2 separate regions of the Homo sapiens genome follow, and region 2 is linked to region 1. The links are contacts of gene promoters, found by promoter capture Hi-C in human tissues and cell types (Jung and others, 2019). All regions are on one chromosome and are shown on one strand. Each heading gives the region's core, a stretch centred on a gene start or on the middle of the fragment in contact. The rest is flanking DNA. Distances are from core to core; before and after follow the strand shown.

Region 1 (2,700 bases), core at 1-2,500:
GTTTGCAGAAGTGGATCTGTCATACTTCCGGTCTAAGCCCAGCAGTATTAGGCTGCACTAGAGAATATGAAGACTAGGAATAGAGTTTAGAGAAAATGTAAACCAAAAAGAACTAAGAATATGTGCAAAATGATCAAGAAACTAGTCTGCAGGGGTAACTTAATTGGGTAAGGTCAGTTGTAACTTTGAGGAAACATCCATTTACAAATTACAGAATTTGTTTCTACAATTGCAGAGATTCCTATAAAATGTTAGAAAAACTACATTTAATTGAAAATACGAAATCAGGTATTAGGTGAAATAGAGATCCTAATCAAGAGAAGGTGAGAATGAAAAAAGCAACACTAAAATGCAATCACATAGTTTATTCAATTAAATAAATAGGAGGCACCGTAACTATCTTGATGCAACACCGGAAAAGCTGTTTCGTCAAAGAGCTCACAAGACACAGACAAGTAACTCTCCAGCGGCATGAAATGCATCCAGAAATCCAAACCATTTTGCCAGGTATTTAAACAGAAAGGGTTGTGTCTAGATTCACGCGGGGACTCGGCTTTTGACGTACACACTCTGTATTTGGTTTAGCGTACTAGGGAAGATCTATTAAAGCCCTGATTACTTATGCTGCTTCCGTGTCTATTCCCCGCGGTTACGAGGCATACCAGAAGTCCAAGTTTCTTTGTTCTGTACCAGGACGGACGCTGGTCATAAATACTGAACCATCGTAGCCCAGCCACTTCACCCACACCAGGGTAAAAGGGTGGGGGAGCGGAGGAGGGGCAAGGTTCCATCCCGAGCACAACTACCAGAAACGGAAAAGCGACGGGGTGGGGGGCCAAACTGCCAAATACAAACAGGACCCAAGCCAAGGGCGGGGACCTAAGCAGGGCGGGGATCCAGGAAGCACCTCCCGAGCAGGTTCTATGGCTCCCCCTACCAAGGGTAACTCTCTGGGTTTCCTCTCCCCGGACGTCGTGGGCACGCGCCCGACAGACTTTCGCCCCTAGGCCGGTTCCCAGTCCAGCTCCGGAGCCACCGTGCCGAGTTCTCCCAGGCCGCACTCACCCCGGAGGAAGCCTTGGCCCCCTCGTCCTCTTCGCCCCTCCAGGCCGGCGACGTGGGGCTGACGGCCAGGTCGCAAAAAGCAGGGCCGAGCGGAGCCCGCTCCCCTCGGTCGGCGGTGGAGACCCCGGCCCAATCCCCCGGCCGCAGCGGTACGGCGTCGGCGGCAGCAGCTGACCCGGACACAGTGAGAAGCCCCGGCGGAAGTGATAACATCCCGACCTCCTCCGGGCGCGGCAGCCGGCGGTGGAGGCGGCGGGGGCGTGGCGGCGGCGGAGGCGTGGCGTCTTCTTGAAACCCACACAGCATCCCCCCAACCCCCTCAGACGTCACGGGCTAGCGCTCGCGCCTGCACTCGCGGGGTCGGCCTTCCTTGCCTGTGGGCGGACCCGTCGCGTCGACTCCTTATTGGTGGCGTTACTACGCCTCAAGGCGTTTCTTCCCTCTTTGCTGTTCGCAGGGACGCTGCCTGGTAGTTTCAGTTACTTTTGTTTTCTTTCTGCCTGCCTTTATTGATCATTACAGTAGGTGAAATTATCGATATCAATAATAATATTGTAATACAATAGGTGCAATTATCAATATCAATATTATTACAACAGGTGCAATTATCAGTATCATTACAATAGGTGCAATTATCAGCGATCAATAATGTGAATTATAAAATGGATGAAATAAGGGGAGGAGGTCGGGCGCGGTGGTTTACGCTTGTAATCCCAGCACTTTGGGAGGGCGAGGCGGGTGGATTACCGGAGGTCAAGAGCTCGAGACCAGCCTGGCCAACATGGTGACACCTCGTCTCTACTAAACAAACAAAAATTAGCTGGGCGTGGTGGCGCGCGTCTGTAATCCCAACTACTCAGGAGGCGAGGGCGGAGGCGGAGGCGGAGTTGGAGTTTGCAGTGAGCCGAGATCGTGCCATTGCACTCCAGCTTGGGCAACAGAGCAAAAACTCCGTCTCAAATAAAAGGAAAAAGGAAAAAAAAAAAAAAAGAAAAAGAAAAAAAAGAAATAAGGCGAGGAAAAATATCCGAGGCATCATTTTGGGGAGTTAGGCCTCAGAAGCGACCTTAGAGTTTGGTAATATTTGAGTGTGAAAAGCTTTACAGCAGTGCTTCTCTTCACTGGGGGAACGGTCGGTTTATTTTTTTCAATTTTCAATTAGTTTTTGACAAGTTAATAAAACAGAAAAATGAAAAGACATACAAAGTCCAAGTCAAAACTTTTTATCGTTAGAGTTAACAGCCATAAAATTACCTGCAAAATTGACATAGAGTTTTCTACTCTCTCTCTGTGAACCATTTGCAAACAGTTCTCAGAAGAGCCCAGGTCTATAGACCATGGTTAGAGTACTCAAGGTAAACTACTCAAATTAGACCATACTCAGCTGTAGAGTTTCAACCAAATGAGATTTGTTTGGAGAACATCATAGTCTCTCTCAGTTGGGCGTGCTGGCTCATGACTGTAATCCCAGCACTTTGAGAGGCCGAGTCGGTAGATCGCCAGACCTCAGGGCAACATGGCGAGACCCCATCTCTTAAAAAAAAAAAAAAAAAAAGAGACAGAGAAAGAAAGAAAGAAAAAGAAGCAAAGAGAAAGAAAGGAAGAAAGAAAGAAAAGAAGAAAATTAGGTGGGCT
Region 2 (2,774 bases), core at 230-2,729, 1.3 Mb after region 1:
CACTTGTTCAAGCAAAAATATTTCTACCATAAATTATTTCCTAAGAGAAAGTTTGCTCAAAAATATTTTTTTTCCCCAAATACTGACAAAAGCTTGCCCTGGGAATCCCATTCCTCTTCACATCTGACAGTAACCTGGATTTTGACAGCTCTGCTTCTGGCTCACAATGTATTCACATCAGGACCTGCTCTGCTTTTGCCCATCATGGTTACTTCTACATTTTTGCAACTTAATTCCAATAAATATATAAAATAAATGCTGAATTCTATTAATAAATACACAAACGGGTAAAGGCATGCTGGGGGCATGAGGAGGAGTTGAGTGGTTTATGGAGGGCCCTTCCTATCTCCAGCACAATAGAGACTATGCCAAGGAAATTCATACAAACGGTCTAGATAAGTAGACTGCCAGAAACAATCTGGTTTTAATGAACTAAATTAGGATTCATTCATTCAACAAGTATCTAATGAGCTCCTACTATGTGCGGGGCCCTTTGTTAGGTGTTAGAATATCATGGTGAGTCAAAGCAGATACAGTACCTGCCCCCTCTAGTTTACAGTCTGTTAGAAAAGACCAGCATTAAATTAGGCCAAGAATCAAGCAAACAAAAGTAGAATTGCAACCATGACAAATGCTAGCAAGGTGACAGACACAGTGCAGTAACCCTATCTAGCAGGATCTGGCCTAGTCATGCAGGTCAGGAAAGTTCACTGAGGAAGTGATGCTGAATTCAATATTTAAAGGCTGGCCCAAATGTCTATCAACTGATGCGTGGGCAAATAAAATATAGTCTGTCCATACAATGAAATATATTCCATCATAAAAAGAAATGAAGTACTGATTCACGCTAAAATGCAGAGGAAACTCAAAAACATTATGTTAAGGGAAAGATGCCACAGTATTGTATGATTCTACTTACATAAATTGTCCAGAACAGGAGGGATGGTGGTGGTGAGGGTGGTGGTGGCTGAAGAGTGACTGCTAGTGGGTATGATGGGGAGTGAGTGCTAGAGGATACAGGTTTCTTTTTGGGGTGATGAATATATTCTGAAATAAGATAGTACTGATGGTCTGAAGTAAGATAGTGGTGATGGTTGCACACCTCTGTGAATATATTAAAAACACTGAATTATACACTCTAGATGGGTGAATTGTGAGGTCTGTGAATTAAAAAAAAAAACATCTAAACACCAACCCGAACCAGATGGTCTGTGAATTATATCCCAATAAATCTATGTGAAAATACTGCAAGCCTAGGGAAATGACAAGCTGAGGAGCAAAGCTCCTGTGTGTGGTTGGAGGACACATGACGAGCACCATTGGAAAGACAGAAAAAAAAGGCCAGGGAGGATCAGGCCTGAGATGAGACTGAGGAGGGAAGCAGGAGCAAATCCACACAGGGCCCTGCCAGCCATGTTGATGTTCTGTTTATCCTAAATGCAATGGGTGGCACTGGAGGGCTTTAAGCAGGAAAGAGGTGGAGGGAAGAGGAAAGGACACAATGGAATTTACATTGTGAAAAGATCATTCTGGCTAAAGTAAGGAGTACAGACGGGAGGGAGTTGGAAAGCTTATGTGTAGGCCAGTTGAGAGGCTGCAAAAGTCCAAGGCAAAGGTGGAGGTAGCATGGATGGGCCGAAGTGAAGAGATTAGAAAGATGTGTAAGATGTTAAATCAACAGGACAGGGTGACAGACTGGATCTGAGGGTAAAGAAGGGGAAAGAATTCTTGTTTTCATGTTTTATAACAAGATGGATAGTGGTGGCACCCATGGGAGACAGGACACTGTAAGAGGCCCAAGATGTCAGAGGGAGACAATGAGTCTGGTTTTAGACATGGAGATCAAAGCCTTTGGTATCCAAAAAGGGCCACGAGGAAGACAGTGGGTGCAATGATTCCAGAGCTCACTGGAGAGGCCTGGGCTTGAGATGGGGATCTGTGGCTCACCTAAAGAGAGACAAGTGGAGGCATAAGTACGCATGATCCTGCCCCAGTGAGATGACAGGAAGGCTTGAGACTGAGCTCTGAGGAGCCCTGACACTTCATAGCCTGAAACTGCATAATTGGAATCTCATCATAAGACAAACCCAAAGTGATGGTCATTCCATGAAGTAACTGACCTAGAGTCATCATCTGTGTCAAGGTTATGGAAGTCAAGGAAACGCTAAGGAAGTGTTCACATTAAAGGAAACTAAAGAGACCTGACAACTAGATGTAATAGGTGATTCTGAACTAGTACCTTTGGCTATAAAGGACCTGATTGAGACAATGGGTGAAACTTGAACGGGGTCAAAGGATTTGAAGGTTATAATGTATCAGTGCTAATTTGCTGATATTGATGGTTGTATTATGTATATGCAGGAGAATATCCTTGTATACAGGGATTACACACTAAAGTATTCCAGGTATTGGGGCATGAGGTTGGCAACTTATTCTCAGATGATTGAGAAGAAAATTAAGTTTATCTGTACTAGTCTTGTTACTTTTCTGTAAGCCAGTGGGCATGACCCATGTGAGAGGTAGAGTGGGTTTTAGAAGAGAAGGAATAATCCATGGTGCACAGGTCCTGAGAAGGAAGAGTTGAAGCACAGGAAGTTTGAGAAGAAATTTAAAACAGTTGTCATGTTGTGTGAGAAAATGAGTCAATCAGAGAATTAGAAGATTGCCAAGCATATTTGGGGCCCATAACAGGATGGTGATTATGAACAAAACAATGCCGTGACTTTTAAGCACATTCGAGAACTGAAAAAAATGTAGCATCTAAAACAGATTTT

Evidence for each region. The method cuts DNA at HindIII sites, captures the fragments that hold promoters and counts their contacts. A contact is called where the count stands out against the background at its distance.
Region 2: a fragment that was not itself captured here is called in contact with the fragment with the promoter of BNIP2 in region 1 in 1 of the 25 tissues and cell types used here (dorsolateral prefrontal cortex).

The regions. Positions count from the first base shown.
Region 1 is chr15:59,688,070-59,690,769 of GRCh38, forward strand. BNIP2 (BCL2 interacting protein 2) reads right to left here and starts at 1,251. Exons shown (of 10, transcript NM_004330.4): 1 at 1,066-1,251. RefSeq lists an enhancer at 957-1,605 and a silencer at 1,019-1,528. The HindIII fragment of the contact is 13,463 bases long and covers 1-2,700 here.
Region 2 is chr15:61,027,978-61,030,751 of GRCh38, forward strand. The region is part of intron 1 of RORA (RAR related orphan receptor A); the gene reads right to left. The region is part of intron 2 of LOC107984805 (a long non-coding RNA gene); the gene reads right to left. Among named protein-coding and RNA genes, the nearest start is that of RORA, 200 kb to the right of the region's middle. The HindIII fragment of the contact is 6,223 bases long and covers 1-2,774 here.